Linked DNA regions of Homo sapiens: regions 2, 3 and 4 are each linked to region 1. The links are contacts of gene promoters, found by promoter capture Hi-C in blood cells and fetal thymus (Javierre and others, 2016). All regions are on one chromosome and are shown on one strand. The core of a region is centred on a gene start or on the middle of the fragment in contact, and the rest is flanking DNA. Distances in the headings are between cores, read along the strand shown. Region 1 holds the start of LNCRNA-IUR (lncRNA imatinib upregulated). Region 2 has its middle 260 kb from the start of FAM76B. Region 3 has its middle 240 kb from the start of FAM76B. Region 4 has its middle 190 kb from the start of FAM76B.

Evidence for each region. The method cuts DNA at HindIII sites, captures the fragments that hold promoters and counts their contacts. A CHiCAGO score of 5 or more calls a contact.
Region 2: a fragment that was not itself captured here is called in contact with the fragment with the promoter of LNCRNA-IUR in region 1 in 1 of 17 cell types (neutrophils); the score reaches 5.2 in neutrophils.
Region 3: a contact is called between a fragment that was not itself captured here and the fragment with the promoter of LNCRNA-IUR in region 1, in 1 of 17 cell types (total CD4 T cells). The highest score is 5.0, in total CD4 T cells.
Region 4: a fragment that was not itself captured here is called in contact with the fragment with the promoter of LNCRNA-IUR in region 1 in 5 of 17 cell types (activated CD4 T cells, M2 macrophages, total CD4 T cells and 2 more); the score reaches 8.7 in activated CD4 T cells.

What each region holds. Positions count from the first base shown.
Region 1 is chr11:95,148,906-95,152,252 of GRCh38, reverse strand. LNCRNA-IUR (lncRNA imatinib upregulated) reads right to left here and starts at 1,714. Exons shown (of 3, transcript NR_110303.1): 1 at 505-1,714. RefSeq lists a silencer at 485-594 and enhancers at 1,115-1,244, 845-1,386, 1,387-1,928. The HindIII fragment of the contact is 7,632 bases long and covers 1-3,347 here.
Region 2 is chr11:95,531,584-95,535,057 of GRCh38, reverse strand. No RefSeq gene overlaps it. Among named protein-coding and RNA genes, the nearest start is that of FAM76B, 260 kb to the left of the region's middle. The HindIII fragment of the contact is 8,164 bases long and covers 1-3,474 here.
Region 3 is chr11:95,549,981-95,553,063 of GRCh38, reverse strand. No RefSeq gene overlaps it. Among named protein-coding and RNA genes, the nearest start is that of FAM76B, 240 kb to the left of the region's middle. The HindIII fragment of the contact is 6,834 bases long and covers 1-3,083 here.
Region 4 is chr11:95,599,888-95,602,942 of GRCh38, reverse strand. No RefSeq gene overlaps it. Among named protein-coding and RNA genes, the nearest start is that of FAM76B, 190 kb to the left of the region's middle. The HindIII fragment of the contact is 2,572 bases long and covers 283-2,854 here.

The sequences.
Region 1 (3,347 bases), core at 465-2,964:
CAGCGCCACTCCATGGCCCGAGCTCTGTTTCACCTGGTTCTCACCTGGATCGCGGCCTCCAATTTGCGCAGTGACCCCTACAGTCTATTCTCCAAACAGCAGCTGGCGTGGTCATTATGAAAAGCAATGTCCACCTGCTGCTCAAAAACCCACGAATGGCTCCCCATTTCTTTCCCATTAAAGCCAAAGTCTAAAACATTTACAAAGCGTTATATGATCAGTTCCTACCTGCTTTCCTTATGTTGGAGGCTGTGAAGCTCCTTAATATATAAACAGTTCTCAGGAGAAGGAATAAAAGCACAGCCACCTCCTCAGCAGAGCCAGTTTACACTCTGCTAGAGACAAGAGGAGCTGGGACCTTCTCCCCTAACCCTTACTGCATATGTGAGAGAAGCCAGACCTGCTGGATCGACTGGAAATGCCCAGTGCCTGAGACGGGGAGGAAAGAGAAGCCGTGGGGAGGAAAAGACTGTAAACCTAAAAGGCATTGAAGTCCCACCTCACCAGTTAGGCAGGGAGGAGAAAGAGGCCTAGGGCGCTCGGGAACTTGGAATAAGGTTGCCCTCTGCGGGTGAAACTGTGAAATATCTCACAGTGGAGGAGGGCGGAGACTGTTCGCAGAGGGGCCCGGCGAAAACGTCACCCTACTGGAGGTACGAACGCATCGCAGACTGGGGGCGCCCGAGCGCATCCCAGACGCGAGGGCAAAGGCCCAGGAGGACTGTGGGGCTCTCGGAAGTATCCGATCACCTTGCGAGGAGTCCGCCGGCTGTCCGAGCCTGATGTCACTGCAACTTCGATTCCTCCGACGCCCCTACTCTTACTTCCCAGTCTTCAGGCAACTTCTCCGCTTCGGCCTCCCCTAGGCCTTGGCCCCAGAGAGGGGACGCACTCCACAGGTGGATTCGCACGTGTGGGCCCTCGGCAGCACTTTCTCGTGCAAATTAACAGGTGGCCCTCATTGTGGAAGCACCGCCCAGCCTTTCCCGGGGAGGTCACCAGGGCGAGGCCGCTCAAGGTCTGCAGGCGCCCGGCGTTAGCGGGATCCTCCCCGCGCACTGGTCCGAGGAGGCCAGGAGAGGGCGAACCAGTCCCCGACCAGCGGCCCTTCCGGGGGTGGGCTCTGACCCCACCGAGCGGTTAGAGGGTCCAGGAGCTCCAAAGGGTAGGGCAGAATTGGGTAGATGAGGGTGCATTTTTCTGGGAGGAGTCTAAGGCGTCGCTGACTCTCAAAGGCCCGCATCCGGAGAAAGGGAAAGAGCCCCGTCCCGGGAGGAAGGACGAGAGGCTGGCCCGCGGGAAGGAGCCCTGGCAGTCCCTCCTGGCCTAGGTCTACCTCTTTGATCTCACCGTCCCCGTGGCGGCGAGTGCCACCAAAGATGAGAGAGGCCAGCAGGTATCGGGAGAGAGCTGAGGGGTCGGCGCCGGCGGGACCCCAGATTGGAGCCGCCGTCGTCGGACGGGCAGACCCTGCTGTAATAGCTCCCGGCCGGCCACGGTAGGCAGGTGGGGCCCACCGCGAGTCCTAGTGAAAAACACCTTCCTCTTGATTCTCTCAAAGGAACCCGAGCCCTGGGAAGGGACATCAAGGCGCTCCCGAGACTCCGGAGACGGCCAACAGCCCCAAAAGAGAGTACTCGGCTATCCAGCCGCCCTTATCCAAGCGGAGAATCTCTCTCCACCTCCGCCCTCCCGGGACTCAAAGTTGTTTGTGGAGCCTCCAGGTTTCCTTGTAGATGGGCACGATATGCACTGTGTGCGCGCGCGCGCACACACACACACACACACACACACACACACACACACACGTATATGTATTTTTCCAGTGGCCACTGCAGGATTGCCAGCTTTCGGAAATGAGCATCCGCTCTCTCTCTCGGGACTGGGCGTGGGGTTCACCGAAAGGAGAGGAAGAGACCTTGCGTTTGCGCTGGGCCTGCTCGATGCCAGGCCATTCTAGGCTTCTGTCTATCCTGGTTTCTGGTCTGTGCGTTGTGGGTAGCAGCATTGGCGTATTACGCCGGAGGGAGCAGGCTGAGCGAGGCTCCAGAAGGTGCGCAATAGCCGGAGAGGAAAGGGCGATGCTGTCACCTAGCCCCCTCCCTGAGACTCCATTCAGCCCAGAAAAAGGAGCTGCTTTCTCCCCCATCTACCCTAGGAGAAAATAAACGGTCGCTGGCATTTTCCTGCGTCTTTTAATTTTGCCAGAACTGTTTTGGGTTGGCTATTGTGGGCCAGGATGGAGGCCTTCTCCTCCCGGGAGCAAACCTGCCCACGCCCAGGCCGGCAGTGGAGTCAGCCTTGCCCCAGCCTGCCCTCCAGGGAAACAATGCCCCTTTGTCCCTCGCCCTCCCGGGGCTGATACAGCCCCTCCCCTTAGCTTAGGGCTCCCTCCCGTTAGAGCATTCCAATGATTGCCACAAGTCACACTTTTCTTTGAGGTCTCTGCCTGGGAAGAAAACAAAGCAGCCCTCCTAATCACACGGAGGGAGTGGAACTTTTCCTGCCCTCTGACTATGTGCCAGCCTTGGCTCCTCCCTGAAGCCCTGTCTAGAGGGCTTATTAGGTCACTTATGTTTTGTACCTCGTGTGAAGTCCCACAATCAGTAGATTATAGAGGGGAGCACAAACCCAGCAGTGTCTGACATAGAGAAATTACACATACATACATACACACATACATACATACATACACACACACACATACACACATACATATACATACATACATACATACATACACACACATACATACACACATACATACACACATACACATACATACATACATACATATATACATACATATATATAGTCTTTCCACCACCCAGGATTGAAAATTAATGCTGTTTTTGACATTGTCCGTTATCCACCCAAACCCTCCAAAAAGGCTGGCTGGCATTTGCTTGGCTCTAGTTCTACCTGCCCACCTTCTCCTTTGCCTAATCCTGAGTTTTCCCCTTCCCCACGTGTGTTCCCCTTGAGCACTTTTTTGCTAACTTCCTGCATGCTACTGTCATCTCAGAGACTGATTCCTGGGGAGCCCAACCTGTAACATGGAGCTCAGTGGAAAGCACATGGAATGTGGACTGAGACATGACTGTGTTCAAACCCTGGCTCTGTCGCTAAGTGGTTACTTGGTTTGGGGCAAGGCATTTAATCCCTCTAAAGTTCACTTTCATCTGGGGGGAAAAGATAACTGTGAGGATTAAGTGAGTTTATATATAGTGTATGAGTGCCTGGACCACTGAAGCAGTGCAGCAGATGTTAGCTCCTCCTTCAGTAATATTTATTGAACATGGCATCCCAAGTGTTACTAGAATTTATATTTCTACTTTATAAATTTT
Region 2 (3,474 bases), core at 132-2,631, 380 kb before region 1:
CTACTAATCTGTTCTCCATCTCTTTAATTTTGTCATTTGAAGAATGTTATATAAATGGAATCATAAGCCATTTACATTTAATGTACTTATTGCTATGTTAGGACTTAAGATAGCTATTTTATTTCTTTTTATCTCTTTTGTTCTTTCAGTTTTTTACTTCTCTATTCTTTCTCCTGCCTTCCTATGGATTACTTCAACAGGTTTTAGAATTTCATTTTGATTTATCTGTAGCATTTTTTATGTATCTTTTGATACAGATTTTTGGTGGTTGCTGTAAGCGTGATATCATACACATGTAACTTATCAAAGTCAACTGATGTCAACACTTTACCAGTTTGAATAAAGCATAGAACTCTTATCTGCTTTTAACTACCTTTTACCCTCCCCTGTTTACAATGTAATTGCCTTAAATATTTTTCTACCTATACTGAGAACCACATCAAAAATTGTTATAATTTTTGCTTTAATCATCAAGCACAATTTAGAAAACTCGAGAGAGGGAAGACTGTTGAATGTATTAAGATTTTTAGATCTTTTTGTTTTTTCTTCTTCCTTCCAGATGTTTGAAGGTTCTTTTAAAAAGTCCTTTCCTTTCTGTTTCAAGAACTTTCTTTAGCCATTCTTTTGAAATAGGTCTGTAGTGACAAATCCTTTTAGTTTTCATTTCTTTGGGAAAGTTTCATTTTCTTTTCATTTAGAAGCATATTTTCACTAGATATAAAATTCTGTGCTGATAATTCTTTTATCTCAGCACTTGAAAAATGTTCTAATTCCTTCTGTCTCCCATAGTTTCTGATGAGAAATCCATTGTCATTGGAATTACTTTTCTCCTGTAGATAACATGTCTTTTCTCTGTCAGTGCTTTCAATACTCTCCCCTTGACTTTGGTTTTCAGAAGTTTGAGTGTGATGTGTCTTGATAGATTTCTTTGAATTCATCCTGTTTGGAATTTGCTCACCTTCTTGAGTCTGTAAGTTCAAGTCTTTCCCCAAATTTTGGAAATATTCAGCCATTATTTCTTTGAATATTTTTTTATCCCTACCATCTTCCTCCTTTTCCTGTGTCCAGTGACAAATGTTAGATCTTCTGTTATAGACCCACAGGTCTCCAAGGGTCTGTTTATTTTTCCCTCCTTATTTTCTCTCTGTTGTTCAGATTGGGTAATTTCTACTGTCCTACCTTCAAGCTCATTCTTTCCTTTGTCCTCTCCATTATTCTGTTGAACCTATCCATTGAGTTTTTATCTTACTTATAACATTTTTTAGTTCTAACATTTCAATTTGGCTCTACTTTATACCTTCTATTTCTTTACTGAGACTTTCAATTTTTTCCAATTGTTGCAAGCATGTTCATAATTGCTCACTGAAGCATTTTTCCGATGGCTGCTTTAGATTGCCTTTCAGATAAGTCCAACAACTGTGTCATCTCAGTGTTGGTGTATGTTGGCTTATTTTTCTCATTCAAATTAAGATTTTCTTGGTGTTTTGTATAATGTGTGATTTTTAAATTGAAATCTGGACATTTTTAGTATTTTGTCACGAACTTCTGTATCTTAATTAAATCTTTTTCTTCAGCAGGCCTCTTCTGACATTGCTCTGGGAGGGAAAGTGGTGGGGTGAGCATGGGGGGCGCTTCCTCATCATTGTCACATGGGAGTGAAATTCTTCCTCTTACACTATCTTCCTCTTACACTATTCTTCCTCTTACACTATCCTAGATGGGAGAGGTAGAAATGCCTTGTTAGTGCCAGATGTGGTCTCCATGTGGCCTCCACTAAAACTGTGTTGGGGATTTGGGGGAAGGTGTCTCATTATCATGGGATGGAAATGAAAGTCTCAGCTCCCTACTCTGTCTTCTCTGATACTACAGGGTGGGAGGCGGTTTAAGAGTGCCATATTACAGACAAGCAAGGGTGGAAATCCTGGCTTCCCAACTCTGCCTTTGCTGATGAGGGTGAGGCTGTGTGCTTTCTCTACGGTGTTTGACTAGGAGAGGATGGATTTTGTCTAAAAGTTTTCTGTCTAGCTAGGCTGTTCCTTTAGCTAGAAACGGCATGCTTTTCTTGGGGCTTTTGTTGTTGCTCACATTGGCATTTCCAGGCTGCTAGCTTCTTGGTTTCATGTCCAGGATATATGAGACAAAAAGAAAACCCAAGAAACTCGCCATGTTAGATCTCCAGTTTCAGGTCCCTAGCCAGTCTGCTATCTTTGCCCCACCTTTGAGCCTTCGCATGTTTATTTTATACATAATGTCCGGAGTTTTTGCTTGTATTTAACAGGAGGAATATAGAGAAGTATATATATCCACTCACTTGGTTTTATCCTTAGTATTTTCAGAGCTAATAATAACAATAACGACTGCTATGTTTTTAGTGCTGTTTACATGGCCAGTATCATGCTAATTTATTTACTTATGACAGTAATCTTATGAGGAAGGTACAATAATTACTAATGCCATTTGATACACGAAGAAACTGAAACTCAGAAATAATCCATGTAAACATTTAGAACAGTGCCTAGCACATATACTAATAAAGGCTAGGGAATATTATTGTTAATTATATTTTTAGCATTGTTAACTTGTCTGAAGGACCTAACTAATAACAACAGAGTTAGAATTCCACCCCAGTACAGTCTAAACTTGTAAACTGTAGGCAGTAATTTCTCTCAATTTGACTGAAACCACTGGGATTACTCAATTTCTACCGCATCTCGCATTATATCTTTACGCATCTCACTTATGTTACCACCACTGTTTTCTTTTCGGTTTTTTGTTTTGTTTTTGTTTGTTTGTTTGTTTGAGATGGAGCCTCACTCTGTCGCTCACGCTGGAGTGCAATGGCGCATTCTTGGCTCACTGCAACCTCTGCCTCCCAGGTTCAAGTGATTCTCCTGCCTCAGCCTTCCCAGTAGCTGGGATTACAGGCATGCACCACCACGCCTGGCTAATTTTTGTATTTTTAGTAGAGACAGGGTTTCACCATGTTGGCCAGACTGGTCTGGAACTCCTGACCTCAGGTGATCTGCCCGCCTTGACCTCCCAAAGTGCTGGGATTACAGGCATGAGCTAGCACACCCAGTTCTTTTCTTTATCTATAGTTTTCAAATTTCCTTCAATTTATAACCTGATAATAAAATAACTAATGTTTATGTAATATATATGGGAATGACAAAATGCTCTTACATTAATTACATTTAATATTTATTTCAAACTTCATTACAACTTCAGAGGCAGGTATTCTTAATTATAACACTATTTTAAAACTGAAATTCAGGGACAAGCCAAAAACCACATGGTTAGGAAGGGGTTGAGATATAACTCAAGCCCAGTGCTATTTCCACCATCCTGTGGTGCATCCGTAACCCACATCTCACTTTCATATCTTCCCTATAGCTCTCTGGGCTCATAACTTTCCTCTCTTTGGATCTCCTGGCAGAATATAAAGGACTTGAGGGAGAGAAGTTGGGGGGAGTT
Region 3 (3,083 bases), core at 65-2,564, 400 kb before region 1:
TTTCTAAAATGCAGATTCCTGGGTCCCACTTGAATCTTCTGACTCTATGGGGAATGGGGTCCAACAATCTGTTTTCCAAAGCATACCAGCTTATTCTAAAACACATTACAGTTTGAGGTCCAAAGAAATAGAAATTGTCAGAGACATAAGAGTGAATTTAAGAAAAAGAGCAGAGCAAATAATATGAGTAAGGCAGGTTGATTTAATTACTTCCTTTTATCAGAACTTTAGAAGTATATTCATCATAGATTTTCTCAGGTCGACTCCTGTAACTAGTTTGGTCATTCCTGAGTTTAGAGAAAGTATTCCTTTTAGATACACTCTTTTGTGTCCTAGAGAACCTGAAGTAACCTAGCTTAGTATGGATGGAAGAGAGTCATTTTAATGAGAAGACTCAATTTTAAAGACATGGATTTAGATTGAAAAGAGCTTAGCTACAGTCTGAAACAGCAAAGAGAAAATGCTTTCTATGTCCTAAAGGGAAAACAAACAAGCTAAAATAAACAAAATCAACAGCAACCAAAAACAAAGTAAGAACAAAACCTCTCTTTTTAAAAGCAGCTGCTGGAAGTTTGTACCCTTTGACCCAAATCTCCCCATTTTCCCTATCATCCAGCCCTTTCAGTTTTCTTTTTGTTGTTGTTGTTGCTTTTTTGAGATGGAGTCTAGTTCTGTCACCCAGGCTGGAGTGCAGTGATGTGATCTTGACTGACTACAACCTCCGCCTCCCAGGTTCAATTGATTCTCCTGCCTCAGCCTCCTTAGTAGCTGGAATTACAGGCGCCTGCCACCACGCCCCGCTAATTTTTGTATTTTTAGTAGAGACAGGGTTTCACTGTGTTGGCCAGTCTGGTCTCGAACTCCTGACCTTGTGATCTGCTGGCCTCGGCCTCCAGCCCTTTCAGTTTTAAGATGAATAAGTACTGGAGACCTAATATATAGTATAGTAACTACAGTTTAGAAATAATATTTTGTATATTTGAAATTTGCTGAAAGAATAGATCTTAGGTGTGTGTTCTTAACACACACACCAACATGCACACACACTAACTATGTGAGGTGACGGACGTTAATTAGCTTAACTGTGATGCATACATCGAAACGTTGTACTTCTTAAGTATGTACAATTTTTATTTGTCAATCTCAATAAAGTTGCGGGGGATGATACTTCTGAAAATGAAAGGTAAGAAGAATTCCATCTATATTCTTAAAGAAAAACAAAAGTTTAAAAAAAAATAAAAGTAGCTGCTAAATGTCATATTTTAGGATGTCCCCAGACTGCTATGTGTCTCTGTAATGTTGGTTCAAAGCAGGGAGCAGAAATTCTTCATTCCTTCTGTGCCTGGTGAGAGAGGATTAAGTTCAGTCCTTTCTGGGATTTGGGTCTCTGATGGACATAGTGGTGCATCACCTAGATTCCACCATAGAGATGACTGACTGACCCTCCCAGCTGCTGGGAATGCTACTGGCTGGGATACCCAGCATCCCTTATGGGGATTACCTCTGCTCGAGAGGGCTGTTTGGCCCAAAGTTGTGCCCCTTTCCAGAGCAGCTCACATTTAATGACTGCTCCAAGTAGAAATATAAAATCTTGGCTTCCTTATCCTTCAGGACAACCCTGAAGGGTCAGTCCAGCTTCAAAACTCCCTTTAGGGTTGGCTGCGGTCTCCAACGAAACTGAATCACAGCTCAACTTCTCCCCCCACACAATTCTTTCTTCTCTTCCCTTCTGCAGGTGTTGATCCCAATAGCACTCCTTAATAAACCTCCCACATATTTACCCTAGTCTTTTCTGGCTGCTATAAAAACATACCTTAAACTAGGTGGCGTATAAACAACAAGAACTTAATTCTCATAGTTCTGGGAGCCGGGAAGTCCAAAATCAAGGCACTGGCAGATTTGGTTTCTGGTGAGGGCTGCTCTCTGGTTCAAAGATGGTGCCTTCAGGTTGTGTCCCTCCCTGGTGGGAGAGGCCAGGCAGCAATCTGGGCCTCTTTTGTAAGACTTTCTAATCCCATTCATGAGTGCTCCACCCTGATGGCCTAATCACCTCCCAAAGTCCCCATTTCCTAAACATAATCACATGGGTAATTAGGCTTCAACATTTGAATTTTTGGTGGACACAAACATTTAGACCATAGTGATGCCCAACTCTATCTCAGAATCTGTTTCCTAGAGAATCCACCCATGTCTCCTCTTCTGTAGAGTCAGATTAGGGCAAGCATCAGGAGGAGGAAAGGACTCATTTATATCATTTTTTCCATCCCAGGCTCTGATCCTGGAGGTACATAAGCATGTTCCTGTTAGTCCATGAAAGGTTCTATCCTGTTATGGGAGTCTGACTGAAACTTCATTCTTTCCTTCAAATTATCTGAATGATTTCATCTGTCACTAGAATTTTACCCCTAAAGGACTTGTCCCAGAAATATCACATTGCTACTCTAATCACCATGTTAGACCTTTGAAATTAAAGATGATAGGGTTTTTTTTTCTGTCAGAGAATCAAAAACAGAGTTCCAGTTGATTAGTTGATTCATTCATTCATTTATTCATACATCCATTCAACAAATGTGTTTCGGGTGCCTATCATGTCTCAAGCGCTGATCCAGGCTGCTTTGGAACTAAAAACTTGGCCTGTTGAAGTCTACTTTCTAGACAGAAAAATAGAGAAGAGACAGAAAATAAATGCAAATAAATAAGTAAGTTGATTTCAGTTAGTGGTAAGGGTTATAGAGATAATAAAAGAGGATAATGTAATATAAAATTATTCTGGACAAGTGTATCAATAAAATCTTGGGCAAAGAAGCAATCTTTGAATAAATTTCTAGATGGGAAGATCTGGGCAGAGGCAATAGAAAGTGCAAAGCCTATGAAATGGGGAAAATCTTGGGAAAAACCCCTGTATGTCTAGAATATGGCAAAAATGGGGGCAGAAGATGAATTCAGCAAGTAGGGCAGAAGTGAGATTTTTGCAGAGCACTGTAAACCACGGTGAGAACTATAGATATTATTTGAAAGGCATTAGGTTCTTAAGCAGAGGAGTGACTTGATCCAATTTACATTTCAAAAAGATAACTAGCAGA
Region 4 (3,055 bases), core at 319-2,818, 450 kb before region 1:
TTCCCCCCACCCATCCCTCCAAAAAAGACAACTGGGTTTTGTGATTTGATTTTATCAGTCCCTCTTTATTCTGTATAAATGTAATTTATTTGTTCAGAATATGAATGCTTCTATCAGTGTTTACAAAATCAATGTGGAACACCCTCAAGCTTAAACTCACCTTTTAGAAGCTGCATTGTCATCAGGATAGTGTTATTCTTAGCAAAGACCCATCTTTCCCTAAAAAAGACCTCAGAGATTATCTGATTATCTGAACATACCTTGTATCTTATTACCAAAGCTTCTTCTCCAGATACAAAAATGTTGTTCTTGTAAGAATATTATTTCCAAAATAAGGTTTATCTTGTAAAGAAGACCTCCTTTGCTCCACTCAATATTCATTGAGAAGGTAATGTGAGGACCTCATCCTCAAATCTCCTTAAAGAAGGGAAATATTTGTGGTTATTGTTGACTAAAGACTGTAGGAGAATTCACATTGTTCAGAAGCTGTTTTGATCCTTAAAAATGTAGTGGATATCCATAATAATGATACGCTGAAAATAATACTTTATTATTTGTTTTTACTCTACAAACATTTGATAAGTTATGTGCTGACTGTTGATATGGTCTGAATGTTTGTGTCCCACCAAAATTTATACGTTGAAATCCTAACCCTCATGATAGTAGTATTAGGAGGTGGGAGCTTTGGGAGGTTGTTAGGTCATGGAGGCAAAGCCCTCATGAACGGCGTGAGTGTCTTTATGAAAGAGCCAGAATGAGACCCTTCACTATCTCCACCATGTGAGGACACAGCAAGAAATAGGCAGTCAAATCTGGAAGACAACCCTCATCAGAACTCAACCTCATTGGCACCCTGATTTCAGACTTCTAGCATCCAGAACTGTGAGAAATAAATTCCTGTTGTTTCTAAGCCACATAGTTGATGGTATTTTGTTAAAGCAGCCCAAATGGACCAAGACAGGTGCCCTCTCTGTGCCAGGTAAACTGGGATATAATTTGAATAAAGGATATAATCTCTTAATAAATCAATCAATATTTAGAGACTATGTCTGCTAAGAGGAATAAAAAAACAAGGAAGGAAGAAAAAAAGAAAGGAAAGAAGGAAGGAAAACATATGAATTTATTGCCTACTATGTACAGGGAGCTCATGTGCTTTTCTACATTATCTCCCGAATGCTCTCACAATAAGCCTGGAAAGTCTATTATAAAGTTTAATATATAAACAGATATGCTAGAGGAACATACCACACACACACACACACACACACACACACACACAAGCACACACCACACACACATATACATACACTCTTCCAAGTTAATTGAAAAAAGTATACAAAAGCAAATATATCTATATATATGTCTACACAACACCACACACATTCACATATACACACATACATATATTTTACAAGTTAATGGAAAGAGCATATGTGTATATATGTAAATATATATTAACTTGAAAGAGTGTGTGTGTGTGTGTGTGTGTGTATTAAAATATAGTATTTAGTGTACAATGAATAGGGCAGACAGAAATTCAGGAGAAAGCTCATTAATTAGAGAATAGAAAGAGATAACATACTAATGTTTTTGAGTAGCAGGAACTTCACGTATTTTATCTTATTCTACTTTCTAAGTAACTCTGCGAGGGAGGTATTATTATTCTCATTTAGAAAAGTTGAAACACAGGTAGTTAATGATCACCTAGGAATTTAAATTCATACCTGTGTGATTCTAAAACACTTTTTCATCCTACTTCAGCAAATGTCAAGACTTAAGGGTGCCCTTAAGGATGGTTGAATGTAAGTACTATTTAATATTTTCAGATCGTATTTAGCATCACTTAGGAAGTTTAATATATAAAAGGAAAATTGGGATTTCCTTTCATCATCCATTCATTCAACAAGTATTTATTGAATTCCTACTTTAGGCCAGGCACAGAGTAGATAGGATTCACCTCTTCACCAGACATAGTCCTTGCGTTAGGCACTTACAGTGCTGGGGATTGGGGAGAGAGAACATAGACCGTGGAAGTACAATGCAGTAAGTACTGTGATGGGAGAGTACTGTGTGCAGAGGTGTACATGGATGGATCTGTATCCAGGCATCAGAATTCCTGAAGACTTCCAGGACAGCTTGCTGGGACAGGAGAAATGAGCACATGCTGGCCAGATGAGTGGAGGCCAGGAGCAGAGGTTGTGTTGGTGAAGGTGGTGGGGATGGTGGGGTGGGTGGGAGATGGAAATGTTCTAGGCAGGGGGATCTAGTTGTATGAAGATGACTGATGTCATAGGAGACTCAGATGGCCTGACACATTGTCTAATACTTGTTGGAACATGGGTGGGTAGGCAGAGAGGCAGTTATTGGATAGGAGAATAATTGGGGAACATAATCCAGTAATTACTGTAGGAGCATGAGATGAGAGTTATTGACCCAGAAATTCCCTGTAAAAGGGCTTTCTCTGTCCTTTCAGTTCCCAGAGACAGATTGTGCTGATGTCCAAGGGAAAATGTGTGCTTTTATCCTCATATCTAAGTAGGTCAGTATTTGCTAACACTCAAGGAGTCTGCATTATTTCCCATTCAGCTAGAACATTGTGCTAATGAGGAGCAGGTCATAGATTTAATCCCCTTATGGGCCTCTTAGCTTCACTGCATTCTGTAGCCACAGACAGCCCCCTAACCCTGGGCTGCACTTTCTCAATTGCCAGTTTCTGATGAGAGAAACCTAGGGAAACTTTTTGGACAGATTAAAGAAAGCTCATCACCACTCAGTCCCTCGCAGGGGTGTGACTTCCAGTGAATGTTCCACTGACAGTGGGTAATCAATGTAATTGTGGTTTTCTAAGAAAGCTTGAAACATTTAGTGTTACTGCCACTAAACCTCTAACCTCAGCTCCTGTGGAAAATTTGCAGCCAAGTGGCTACAATCGACTAATATTCTCTTCTTATTCCTCTTCAGAGGAAACTAAAAAATATCTATTAAGCATCTAGTGAATTGGTGGGGGTGCTGTTGGGGGTCCTACTAGTTGCTGTAGCAAGAGAGCCAGAGACAC